3 separate regions of the Homo sapiens genome follow, and all the other regions are linked to region 3. The links are contacts of gene promoters, found by promoter capture Hi-C in human tissues and cell types (Jung and others, 2019). All regions are on one chromosome and are shown on one strand. The core of a region is centred on a gene start or on the middle of the fragment in contact, and the rest is flanking DNA. Distances in the headings are between cores, read along the strand shown.

Region 1 (4,538 bases), core at 1,434-3,933, 270 kb before region 3:
TGATGTTTTGGGCAGGACAAGTCTTCCTCCGATGGGACCATCACACTCATTGAAGGATATTTGTCATGCTTGGATCCTGCACACTAAATACTTACACAGTCATCCTGATAACGCCAAATACCCCCACATATTTCCAAGTATTCTCTAGGAAGGTAGTTATGCCCCAAGCCTAATCCAAATGCACCTAGTGGACATGCACAAGCAAGAAAGTCACTGAGATTACAGTGTGCTGAAATCATCTGATGATTTTTAGGCTTGTTTTGTCCACAGGACCTAGACCTTCTACTCTCTGAGATCAGTGACTACGTTTGATTCATCTAGGTGTGAGGTGTGCCACTATTCAGTAGAAATACAACGCAAGCAACAGAACTTAAAATTTTCTAGTAGCCACACTAGAAAAGTAAAACAAAACAGTTGAAATGAATTTCAATAACATTTTATTTCACTCACTATATAAAAAATACGATTATTTTAACATGTAGACAAGATTTAAAAGTTACTGATGACATATTTTACATTCTTTTGTGTACTAAGTCTTTGAAACCTGGAGTGTATATTATACTTACAGAAATCTGAACTCAGACTAGCCACATTTCAAGTGCCCAGTGGCTAGTAGGTACCATATTGCACAGCACTAGAAAGCTCTATTCACTTACTTTCTCCCACAGCTATTGCCTACTTTTTTCTCCCAACATTTTTTGTGTGTTTTCTTCTATTTCAAACATATAGAAACGTTGAAACATAGAGAAAAGTTCAAACATATTTCAAACACACAGAAAGGTTGAAATAATTGTACAGTTGAATATACCTAACACTAGTCTCTATAATTAACTACTTGCTACAGTTATCAGATATCAATTTGTCTATCCAACCATCTCTCCATAACATTTTTTGATTATTGTCTACTTTTTAGAAGTGTTTCTTTTTATATGTGTGTAGGACAGGTTGAAAACCCACTCAGGAAATTATTATCTCTTTGAACATTGTTCTACAAAAGCTTAATCAGGAGCTTTTTCAAATTTCAGGGCAAAAGAACTTGAAAGCTTCTCTCCTTTTCCTCTTTATTATCCTCTTATGCCTGTGTCCTGATTTTCCTCTCCTGTGGATTCTCGGAGACATGACTTCTCTTTCCCATCAGAGAGCAAGCTTTCTGAGTGAAGCATCATACTCGGTTACATCTCTCAGCCTAGCACAATATTGTTCTGGGTTAGAGGTAGGCTTTGGGGTCAGACAGGTCTGCACTTGATTCTGGCTCTGTCATTTACTACTGCGTGACCCAGAATGGGTGCTTTATTTATTTATTTGTTATTTTGGGGGACAGAGTCTCACTGTATCCTCCAGGCTGGAGTGCAGTGTCACGATCTCGGCTCACTGCAACCTCTGCTCCCAGGTTCAAGCGATTCTCCTGCCTCAGCCTCCTGAGTAGTTGGGATTACACACCCAGCTATTTTTTTGTATTTTTAGTAGATATGGGGTTTCACCATGTTGGTCAGGCTGGTCTCGAATTCCTGATCTTAGGTGATCCACCCACCTTGGCCTCCCAAAGTGCTGGGATTACAGGGGTGAGCCACCATGCCGGGCAACAGTGAGAGCTTTAACTCTCTAAGCCTCCTATGTAATGTGAGGACAATAGGTTTGTTGTGAGATCTAAAGATACATTTGTAAAGTGTAATTATTCTAGCAATTATTAAAATAGTTGGGGAGGAAAAGGAAAGGAGATTATTGCTTATGAATGACTCCTTTTGTGCTTTCCTTGTGAATATTTAGGTCCCAGAATTTACCCAGTGTGTTGTAATAATTTATATTTCTGTCTCCTGTCCTAGGTAAAAAGCTCTTGGAAGGCATGGATTGTCTTTTTTCTACCCAGCCTCAGCACCAGGCACAGAGTCTAGTTCAACAGATGTTAGTTATATCAATGAATATAATTCTAAGTGTCACAATTATCTTTAGATAATGATTTCAGAAAATTACAGAGACTTGAAAATCCAGAGAGCAATAAATCTTAGACTGCACAGATTCAATCTGTCTCCAGTTCTTCCCTCGTTGTGCATGAGGGCAAACTTAGGCTCAAGAAAGTTCACTATGTTTACTGCATATACATGTCTCAAAGCCCATGGACATGCTGCCCAGGGAAGGCAGGAGAAGCAGTCCCCTTGGATTAATCAGCTCCCACACATCCCCAAGGACAGTGAATCTAGGAGACCTCTTCCACCTGTTGGCATCTTTTTTTTTTTTTTTTGAGACAGAGTCTCGCTCTGTCACCCAGGCTGGAGCACAGTGGCGCGATCTCGGCTCACTGCAACCTCTGCCTCCCGGGTTCAAGCGATTCTCCTGCCTTGGCCTCCTGAGTAGCTGAGACTACAGGCGCACGCCGCCACACCTGGCTAATTTTTTTGTATTTTAGTAGAGATGGGGTTTCATTGTGTCGCCCAGGCTGGTTGCGAACTCCTGAGCTCAGGCAATCCGCCGCCCTTGGCCTGCGAAAGTGCTAGGATTGCAGGCATGAGCCACCGCGCCTGGCTGGCATCTTTAAAATGACACCAATGAAGCTTATGATTCTGGGGTCTAGCTGCTCTCTTCGTTGGTGAATAGGTGGATCACTTTGCAGACCTGTTCTACTTGGTGGGCATGCTTCTGAATATTTTTCTAAAGGTGCTGTAACTTTTGTTGCTTTCATTATTATACAAGTAAAATGTTTATTGTTGCAAGTTTTAGAAATGTAGAAATGCCAAATAAAAAGCAGTCACCTGCAAACTCACTGCTCAGAGGAAGCCCTATAAAGATTGCATCTTGTAGCTCTTCAGACTTCTGTCTGTGCGTGTTTATAGGTGTAACACAAACATTGCCAGCACTAACCACCCTGCATGTACAAATGAGGTCACATTTTCATGAATTCCTAGATTTTGCAGACCACACTCCCCATCCAAATAACATCAGTGCCTCAGTGTATTCACCTCTAGCCCTGTCTTCCTGTAGCCTTCCCCATTTGTTTTTGAAGCTCCCTAGCAGCTGCTGCACACATTTTGCACTTCATGCCTTTCTTCTCTCTCCTTCCCATCATCCTTTGGGGCCAGAAGGAACCAGGCTTCTCCCAGGCCTGGATATCATGGCCTCCATCTACCTTAGAGCTTCAAACTTCGGCTACATGGCTGTCGCATGTGGAATGGAGGAGCTTTCTACGTTATAGGAGATCTGCATGGGCTGGGTCCTCGTTTGGTCCTTGATTCAGTGTGTTGAAAGGGAGAGAAAAAAGAATTTGGAAAATCCTCTTAGGAAACTGGCTTGACTTACAGGGCAAAGTCCAATTTTGAAGGTCAAAGACTGCATGCATATTAAAGTCCTTCTCCTTGCATTCTTTTTGTAATAATTCAACTCTCTCTCCAGACAAATGCTCTGGAACAACTAGGAAGAAACTTACATATTTGGAAAAGTAACTTTAAAGAGCAGGTTATCAGTCTAGGCAACATAGCGAGACCACGTCTCTACAAAGAATAAAAAAGTTAGCCAGACGTGGTGGCACACACCTGGAGTCCCAGCTACTTGGGAGGCTGAGGCGGGAGGATTGTTTGGGAGGAGGTAGAGGCTGCAGTGAGCTCTGATCATGCCACTGCACTCTAGCCTGGGCAACAGAGCAAGATCCTATCTCAAAAAAAGTATATTACTACTTTTCAAAAATATTACCTCTATAGCATATAAGAATTTATTTAACAGATGCTTGTGGCAGGTTGTTTGCAAGTCTCACAGGATCCATATCCCCTGAAGTGCAGCCTGGACTATAATGCGGGCTCCTCCCTTTCAGACACATGGTGTGGTGCTTCGGTTAGTCAGGTCTTCTTTCACAGCTGTCAGTGAAGACTTGCTTTTTCTTTTGTTCATTGGTCTTCCACATCTCTTGTTAAGTTTATTCTTGTTTGTTCTTAGAAGTTTTATAATTTTTGTTTTAAGTTTCAATAATGCCTTCATTCTGTCTTTGAATTAGTAATTACTGTTATGTAGGAAAATCACCGATTTTGTATTTTTATTTTTAAATTTTAGAATCTAAATTTATTATTATTATTATTATTATTATTATTATTATTTAGAGATGGGATTTCACCATGTTGGCCAGGGTGGTCTTGAACTCCTGGAGTCAAATGATCTGCCTGCCTTAGCCTCCCAAAGTGCTGGGATTATGGGCATGAGCCACTGCTCCTGGTCAAAAATTTAAATTAAGTTTTATTTAAAAATTTGAATTTTTAAATTAACTCTTATTAGTGTTAATAGTTCTCCAGTATATTCTTTCAAGTTTTCCAGATATGTAGTCACATCATCTCTAATATTTCTACCTTTTATTATACATTGTTATTGTATTAAGCTAACTAAAAATGGTGGAAGTAAGCATTCTAGCTTGTTCCTGGTTTCAACAGGAATCTCAAAGTGCTGGGATTACAGGCCTATTTTTTTTCACCATTAATCATGATGTTGACTACTGGTTTGAGATATTTTTCCTTTTAATAATGTTAAAAGAGTATCCTCCTAATAGTACACTTTTTTTGTTT
Region 2 (4,661 bases), core at 1-2,500, 350 kb before region 3:
TTTACAGGTCCAGAAACTCAGCCTAAAGAGGGACAGTGACTTGCCTGGGTTCACAGAGCCCATTAGTGCTGGAATCTCCTACTCCCATAAGAACCTATGGACTCCCTTGTGACTTCCCACATTCACTGATTTTGATCCTTGGCCCACAGTTTTCTCTACTTCAAGCACTTATCACCTTCACTTGCCCTCATCTGAAAGATGTTATGCTCTGCAGCCTCTGAACACTGTCTCTTGTACTCCAACCCCTGCCCCTACGTCTGCTACTGTACCTCATTAGAGACTTCTCTTCCTTTGACTGCTCCCTTTTTCAATCTGTCATTTGCCTCCTGGCATCACTTTCTTTCCCTATTGGTGCTGTATGCTCCCTTCACATCCTCATGCCTTCTTTTGCTTAGTTTTCCTGATCTTCCTCCCTGACACCCTCACATCATCAACCCATTAAATATTTGGATTCTCTGCTTCTCTAACTAGGTTCTCACTTCCAACTGTGCCCGAATCCTGAACTACCCACTGATGAGGTTTTTCTCCAGTTCCCTACATTAGCCTTCCCAAACCTTCCCCTTTCTCTTCTTGTCTCCTGCTCCCTACTCTTATCCCTCTTCCCCTGGACCCCAGCCATTGGCCTTATCTCCTACTTCACAGGGCATATAGAAGCCATCAGAGGGGAACTTCCACAGGTTCTTGTTCCCTGAAACTCTAGGAAGGCTCCATCCTCTTCCTTCGTCTTGGTCATAGGAAGTGGTGTTTCTCCTGTCCAGAGAAAATCCCTTCACCTCTGCTTTGACCTCATCCCTTTCCTCCATCTCTGGGATCTTGTCTCACCAGGCATCTCTTCTCTCTCTTCTGGGTCCTTCAAGGTCCTTTAGTCTACTGGCCTCTTCCCCTTTTCCTTCCTACAAAAGTACTTCCTTGACTCCACAACTCCCTCTGGATATTGTCTGACTTTACTTTTGTACTTTTCATCCAAGCTTCTTTAAGAGACTCCTTGAAACTCACTGCTGTTTGACTCCTGCCTCCACTGCACCAGTGTGAAACTGCACTCTCCGATGTTCCCAAAGATCTTCTAATTGCAAAACCCAATGGACACTTTTCAGTCTTTATCTTATTGGTGCCCCAACTGCATCTAACATCACTTCCCACTCTATCCTTCTTGAAACTTCCTCCCTTCTTGACTTCCTTGAAGCCACTTTCCTTCAACAGGCAGCTTGAATGTGAGTGTGATGGAGGCAGATGGCCAGATCCAGGCTTTCTCCTGTGTCTAATAGGTGTCAACTCTAAGTTATTAGGCAGTCTCTCCCTGGGCTGGGATCTACCTGCCCCATATAGAGCCAAGTCAGGTTCCAATGACTCCTCTTTTATTGCTGATCTGGGCCAGACTCACAAAGGCCTGTGCCAGTTGCTGACAGTGTCTGTCCCTGGAGGAAGAAAGAGCAGAGGTGAAAGGGTCAGGTATGGGGGTCAGAAGGGAGGCCAGGCTGGAGACCGTGTGAACCAGGGAGCCCCGGGGGACTAGGGTGGGAGCTGGGAAGGCCAGAGGGCCCCTGTATCTGCAGGGCCTAGAAGTCAGAGTTGCTGAGGATGGCTTCTCGGAGCACAGCCATCTCTGCAAAAGGTACATAGTCTGCTCCTGGGGGTGAAAACCAGTGCAGATGTGGGATGCAGGTAGGTGGGTGGTGGGGAGGTGGGCTGAGGGAGCGCGCTAGTCCTGGAAGGGATGGTTGAGGATGGGAGTGCCTTCCTGCCTGGCCTTCTGACTACAGACCCTGGAATGGCCCCCTGTCCCAGGTTTCTGCCTCACCGCGAGGCCTTCCTCCTCGTTGCCGGGTCTTCTGGGTGTCAAAGAAAGTCTCGTGTTCCTCCCAGCGCCGGTCACAGGCCGCACAGAGGAAATTAGACTCAAAACAGCCGCAGCAACAGCCTGGGGCAAAAGTGCAGCCAAGAAGAGTTTAGGAAATGGTGGTATCCCCAGGAGCTGACCACATTCTCATCTCTTCCTCAGTGACCGCATGCCCAAGGCTCTCATACCTGCTCTCCATCATTATCCCCAGATTGCATCCTATCCCCACCTACCCTGCTCCCAATACACCTCTTGCCCTAGAAGTTACCATGATGCCTGCAGGGATGGGGCCCAGTGGCTGCATGTTCTTCGTGGCTGTGTTTGCAGCGACATTGGGCCCTCCAGGCCTTGGGGTCAAAGGTGGCCCGTCTCTTGAGCCAGAACTCACCCACCTCCTCTGGGCGTGATGGGATAAAGCAGAACATGAAGCAGCGGCACTGGCTTACCTTGCAGGGCACCGATATGTCTGTGGGATTGGGGATGGATGGTAGGGTTAATCTGATAGGACCTTGCCTTCTCATGCCAACCCCATCCTCCATCCCCACCACCCCCTATGCACGCAGACATGCTTTTTTTTTTTTTGAGATGGAGTTTTGCTCTGTCGCCCAGGCTGGAGTGCAGTGGCATGATCTCAGTTCACTGCAACTTCCGCCTCCTGGCTTCAAGTGACTCTCCTGCCTCAGCCTCCTGAGTAGCTGGGACTACAGGTGCGTGCCACCATGCCTGGCTAAATTTTTTGTATTTATTTATTTATTTTTTAGTAGAGACGGTGTTTCACTGTGTTAGCCAGGATGGTCTCGATCTCCTGACCTTTGATCCACCCGCCTCCGCCTCCCAAAGTGCTGGGATTACAGGGGTGAGCCACCGTGCCCAGCCACATGCTCTCTCTCATACTTCCCAAGACATGACAGAGTACAGTTATTCCTCCACACTCGAGAGGGGCTGGTCAGTTCTCCCCTACCTGAGATGATCCGGTGCTCTCTCAACAAGTGTCCACAAAAGCATCTGGACTCATCCCCAATCCGGAAACAGTCCCATAGGTAATGGGGGCAGCGCCAGCCAATGTAGAGACCTAGGTATGCAGGATTAAAAGTGAGAAGTAAAAAAATTCTAAGCTCCCCCGAAGTGTTCTTACCTATCCCTTGATGGAGGTGAGGGGGTGGGGGGAACTTACCTCTCCCCACCCCCAGGTATCTTTATCTCCACCTGGAAGTCCTCACCTCTACCCCTTAGATTTTCTTTTTCCTCAGGGTTTTCTCATTACCCCAGAAGTGTCTTCAGTTCTCTTCCTACCCAGGATCTACTCCATCTTTGTCAGCCTGCCAGAGATGACTCAAGAGAGTGGTTTCTGAGCAGGAAGATTATAGATGAAATTTTGTTTGAGGATGAACATGAATCTCACTGAGTTCTCTGTGACCACAGGGATTCTCATCTCCTCTCCTCATCCCACTAAAGCCCAACTTTGCTTTGTTTTCTTGAAGTGTCTAAGGTGAGGGAAAGGGAAGATGATTGGCCAGATGTACAGACAATGGGATTGGCTCCTAAGGAGCATATTTATTGAAGGTCCTGAAGAGGAGAAGGAGGTTGGATAGCTCTGGTGCTGGAAGGTAGGAGGAGGGCTTCCTCTCACGTCTCCACGTTGGTACCTTAATACCTCCCTCTGTGTTCCTGGTGCTATTGTACCAATGCTCTCTGTGTACCTAAGAAGGGCTGCCAAAGGTTCTTCAAGGGTCAGGAGAAAGGGGTAGGTAGCAGTCATGAGTGGTGAAGACCAAAAATTATATATTTTGAGGCTAAGCAAGGAGGCGTGGAAAGGAAAGTGAGGCTAAGAAGTGTCCCTGAGAGTAGGCACCAGCAAGAGGTCACAACCCTCGAGAGCTGGTGTTCAGCAGTGAGGTCTGAATCCCTGGCTTCGTGACTAGTCTTGAGGTGAGGGTGGTGCTGTGCAACTGAGGGAGGATAACCAGATGGCACCTCCAATTCAGATTTTCTCATTCTCCATGAGAACTGAGAGTACCCCAACTTCTAGCCAAGAATCCTGTATGAGGCCCCATGCAGTGGGACTGCCAGGTGTAGGATTCTTAGTCCCAATTAAAGGCTCAACTGAAATGTCACCTCCACCAAAAAGGTGTCCCTGACTTCCCCTGTCTGTCTGGGCCCCTCCTATTGCCATCCATAGCTCCTTGTGCTACTCCTGTTGCAGTACACTGCATTATAATAGATCATTCCCTTGTATTCCTATTAGTCCATGAGTTCTTCAAGGGAGCTGTCTTTTCACCCGTATCTCTCATCCTAGCACAAGGCCTGGCACAAAATGGTTGCTGAGAGAACGTAGATTGCCTGATTAAACAATTGAGCTCATTCCTTCAAGAGGAAGAGAGAGCCAGTATTCAGGCATAACCCTGAGGTTCCATAACATGAATAAGGAGAGTGGCATCATCTGGTCTTTGACTGTGGTCAGGGCCACAATTCACAATTCCGTGCCTCAGATTAAGTTTTCTTGTCTTACCCATAGTCTGTCAGGATCTAAAGCCTGTCTAGATGTGGCTTTTGGCTTTGCTTCTTCTGTCTTGATGCTGATTGCCTGTAGTGCCAGTGCCCCCTTACACCAGGGAGGCTTTGTTGAGAGAGCAAGGTATAGGCAGTCACAATGCAGGTGGGCGGGAGCCAGGATTCCACTAGAGGAGTTCCGAATTCTGTCTGGAGTAGCAGGATACATTAAAAAAGCAGGAGGTGAGGCCCAAAGATCAAGGCCTGCTCGGAGGGCCGGGGGGCAGTCAAGTCCAAGCACTAGTGTAGGAATCAGTGCCCAGCATTCAGATGA
Region 3 (4,300 bases), core at 1,101-3,600:
AAACCTCGTCTCTACTAAAAATACAAAACTTTGCCGGGCATGTTGACAGGCGCCTGTAATCCCAGCTACTGGGGGTGGGGGGTGAGGGGGGTTGGGGGGTTGGGTAATAAAAGACAGGGGAATTGCAACAGAGAAAGAGTAATTCACACAGAGCCAGCCGTGCGGGAGACTGGAGGGTTTTGTTTTTGTTTTTTGGGGTTTTTTTTTTTGAGACGGAGTCTCACTCTGTCGCCCAGGCTGGAGTGCAATGGTGCGATCTGGGCACGCTGCAACCTCCGCCTCCCGGGTTCGAGCGATTCTGCTGCCTCAGTCTCCCCAGTAGCTGGGATTACAGGCATTACAGGCATGCACCACCACTCCCAACTAATTTTTGTATTTTTAGTAGAGACAGGGTTTTGCCATGTTGGCCAGGCTGGTCTCGAAACCATGACCTCAGGTGATCCGCCCACCTTGGCATCCCAAAGTGCTAGGATTACAAGCATGAGGCACCGCGCCCGGCCTGGAGTTTTATTATTACTCAAATCAGTCTCCCGGAGCATTGGGGGAGCAGAGTTTTTAAAGATAACTTGGTGGGTAGGGGGAAGCCAGTGAGCCAGGAGTGCTGCTGATTGGTCAGAGATGAAATCATGGGAGTTGGAGCTGTCTTCTTGGGCTGAGTCAGTTCTTGGGTCTGGGGGCCACAAGATCAGATGAGCCAGTTTATTGATCTGAGTGGTGCCAGCTGATCCATCAAGTGCAGGTTCTGCAAAATATCTCAAGCACCGGCCGGGCACGGGGGCTCACGCCTGTAATCCCAGCACTTTGGAAGGCTGAGGCAGGTGGATCACCTGAGGTCGGGAGTTTGAGACCAGCCTGACCAACATAGAGAAACCCCATCTCTACTAAAAATACAGAATTAGCCGGGTGTGGTGGTGCATGCCTGTAATCCCAGCTACTCAGGAGGCTGAGGCAGGAGAAACGCTTGAACCCGGGAGTTGGAGGTTGTGGTGAGCCGAGAACGCACCATTGCACTCCGGCCTGGGCAAGAAGAGCGAAACTGTCTAAAAAAAAAAAAAAAGAGAAATCTCAAGCACTGGTCTTAGGAGCAGTTTAGGGAGGGTTAGAATCTTGTAGCCTCCAGCTACATGACTCCTAAACCATAATTTCTAATCTTGTGGCTAATGTTAGTCCTACAAAGGCAATCTAGTCCCCAGGCAAGAAGGAGGTCTGCTTTGGGAAAGGGCTGTCTTTGTTTAAACCGTAAACTATACATATAGGTTTCTCCCAAAGTTAGTTCAGCCTTTGCCAAGGAATGAGCAAGGACAGCTTGGAGGTTAGAAGCAAGATGGAGTCAGTTAAGTTGATCTCTTTCACTGTCTCAGTCATAATTTTGCAAAGGCTGTTTCAAGCTGAGATCGCACCACTGCACTCCAACCTGGGTGACAGAGCGAGACTCTGTCTCAAAAAAATAAAAATAAAAATAAAAATAAACTCATAATAATCTTTGAAGTGGGTACTACTATCAAATATTAGTTCCATCTCACAGAGGAGGAAACTGAGGTTTAGAAAGTCTGATCAACTCGCCCAAGTCCACCTTTGATGGAGAAAGCTGACCCACTGAAGCCCCCAACATTTTCCAACTGGACACTTGGAAATGTTGGGGGAACATTCTAGTTTGCCAAGGAGCTGAAATCATCCGGTCTTTAAAGACCCTCCCATGCCCCCGTTTGTGGTTAACTCCTTCATCCCTGCTCCAGGGAGTGGCCTCCACCTCTCCATTTTGAAGGAGAATGATGTCTGTGGCCACCAAGGTCAGAAGCCAAAGGACAGAGCTTTTCTCTGATGCCCAGGAGCCTTGGCAGGAAGAGTGCTTGGAGAGTTGAGAGTCAGAGACTGGGGAAAGCTGGGTAGTCAGGAGCTTCCAGAAGGGTAGGAAGAATGCGAGGTTCCCCAGGTTCTGGGCCCTGCTCGGCTTCCAACTGGCTATGTGATTTTGGGCAAGTGCCTTCTCTTCTCTGGGCCTCAGTTTCCCTCAAAATGGGAGGATTCTTCTAGGTCTAATAATCTCTTCCCTTTCCCCACCTCCCCTTATCTCTCCTACACAAACTGCTCCCCACTGCCCCACCCAGACTGGCTCTGATATTCCAGAAGCCTTTAACTACGGTTTGAAAGTCCCAGGTGGAAGTTGCCGCCCATCCCTGAGGTTCCTCCTGAGCTCTGGGCCCAGGGCTTTAGGTCCTGCTAGGGTATGTGGCCTTGGCAGGTTGGAGAGATCAGAGGGGAGGAAGGCCCAGTGCCTCTGAGACAGGCCTCAGGGAGGCCTGCATTGTGATGACCTGATCCACTCTATGACATCATCCTCTCTTCCACCCTCTCTTCTCCCTGGTCAACCGCTCTGCAAACAACCATCAATCTGATCCCACAGGCCTGAGAAAGTCTGCTCTCCAGTACCTGCTGCTGATCTGTTTCAGCCGACAAGAGGCACCATGAAATTGGAATTCACGGAGAAAAACTACAATAGCTTCGTGCTGCAGAACCTGAACAGACAGAGGAAACGCAAAGAGTACTGGGACATGGCCCTGAGTGTGGACAACCACGTCTTCTTTGCACATCGCAATGTGCTGGCTGCTGTCTCCCCACTGGTGAGGAGCCTCATCTCCAGCAATGACATGAAGACCGCTGATGAGCTTTTCATCACCATTGACACCAGTTACCTGAGCCCGGTCACAGTGGACCAGCTTCTGGACTACTTCTATAGCGGCAAGGTGGTGATCTCCGAGCAAAATGTGGAGGAGCTGCTTCGTGGGGCTCAGTATTTCAACACACCACGCCTTCGAGTTCACTGTAACGACTTCCTTATTAAGTCCATCTGCCGTGCCAACTGCTTGCGCTACCTCTTCTTGGCTGAGCTGTTTGAGCTCAAAGAGGTATCAGACGTAGCTTACTCTGGCATTCGGGACAACTTCCACTACTGGGCCAGTCCTGAGGGCTCCATGCACTTCATGCGCTGTCCACCTGTTATCTTTGGCCGCCTGCTCCGTGATGAAAACCTTCACGTGCTCAATGAAGACCAGGCGCTCAGCGCACTCATCAATTGGGTGTACTTCCGGAAGGAGGATCGGGAGAAGTATTTCAAGAAGTTCTTCAATTACATCAATCTCAATGCTGTCTCCAATAAGACGCTGGTGTTTGCCAGCAACAAGCTGGTGGGCATGGAGAACACCTCATCCCATACAACCCTGATTGAGAGTGTCCTGATGGACCGCAAGCAGGAGCGGCCATGCAGCCTGCTGGTCTACCAGCGGAAAGGGGCCCTGCTTGATTCCGTGGTCATCCTCGGTGGCCAGAAGGCCCACGGCCAGTTCAATGATGGAGTGTTTGCTTATATCATCCAGGAGAACCTGTGGATGAAGCTCTCAGACATGCCCTATCGGGCAGCAGCACTTAGTGCCACCTCTGCTGGTCGCTACATCTACATCTCTGGTGGCACCACTGAGCAGATTTCAGGGCTGAAGACAGCCTGGCGGTATGACATGGATGACAACTCCTGGACCAAGTTGCCTGACCTGCCCATCGGGCTTGTCTTCCACACCATGGTGACCTGTGGGGGGACAGTGTACTCAGTGGGCGGGAGCATTGCCCCAAGGCGGTATGTCTCCAACATCTATCGCTATGATGAGCGGAAGGAAGTCTGGTGCCTGGCAGGAAAGATGAGCATCCCCATGGATGGCACCGCCGTGATCACTAAAGGAGACAGGCATCTGTACATTGTCACTGGACGGTGCTTGGTGAAAGGTTATATCTCCCGGGTCGGGGTAGTGGACTGCTTTGACACCAGCACTGGGGACGTGGTCCAGTGTATCACCTTCCCCATTGAGTTCAACCATCGGCCCCTGCTCTCTTTCCAACAGGACAACATCCTCTGCGTGCACAGCCACCGGCAGAGTGTGGAAATCAATCTGCAGAAGGTGAAGGCAAGCAAGACGACCACCTCAGTGCCTGTCTTGCCCAACAGCTGCCCCTTGGATGTGTCCCATGCTATATGCTCCATTGGAGACAGCAAGGTGTTTGTATGTGGGGGTGTCACCACTGCCAGCGATGTCCAGACAAAGGACTACACCATCAATCCAAATGCCTTCTTGCTGGACCAAAAGACAGGCAAGTGGAAGACCCTGGCTCCTCCACCAGAGGCACTGGACTGTCCTGCCTGCTGTCTAGCCAAGCTACCTTGCAAGATTCTTCAAAGGATTTAAACATTTTAAGTGGGAGAATAAGTAAATGCATTATTATTCACGATTTAATGAGAGAAAGAGAGGAAGAT

What was found. Contacts are between HindIII fragments. The study calls those that stand out against the background at their distance.
Region 1: a fragment that was not itself captured here is called in contact with the fragment with the promoter of CCIN in region 3 in 2 of the 25 tissues and cell types used here (adrenal gland and lymphoblastoid cells).
Region 2: a contact is called between a fragment that was not itself captured here and the fragment with the promoter of CCIN in region 3, in 3 of the 25 tissues and cell types used here (IMR-90 fibroblasts, hippocampus and neural progenitor cells).

Annotation. Positions count from the first base shown.
Region 1 is chr9:35,892,980-35,897,517 of GRCh38, forward strand. No RefSeq gene overlaps it. Among named protein-coding and RNA genes, the nearest start is that of HRCT1, 11 kb to the right of the region's middle. RefSeq lists an enhancer at 2,411-2,910. The HindIII fragment of the contact is 7,635 bases long and covers 1-4,538 here.
Region 2 is chr9:35,817,092-35,821,752 of GRCh38, forward strand. FAM221B (family with sequence similarity 221 member B) reads right to left here. Exons shown (of 7, transcript NM_001012446.4): 4 at 2,799-2,909; 5 at 2,106-2,303; 6 at 1,799-1,918; 7 at 1-1,415. The coding sequence ends at 1,378. Among named protein-coding and RNA genes, the nearest start is that of HINT2, 4.4 kb to the left of the region's middle. The HindIII fragment of the contact is 5,842 bases long and covers 1-4,171 here.
Region 3 is chr9:36,167,038-36,171,337 of GRCh38, forward strand. CCIN (calicin) reads left to right here and starts at 2,351. Exons shown (of 1, transcript NM_005893.3): 1 at 2,351-4,297. The coding sequence starts at 2,466. The coding sequence ends at 4,232. The HindIII fragment of the contact is 27,142 bases long and covers 1-4,300 here.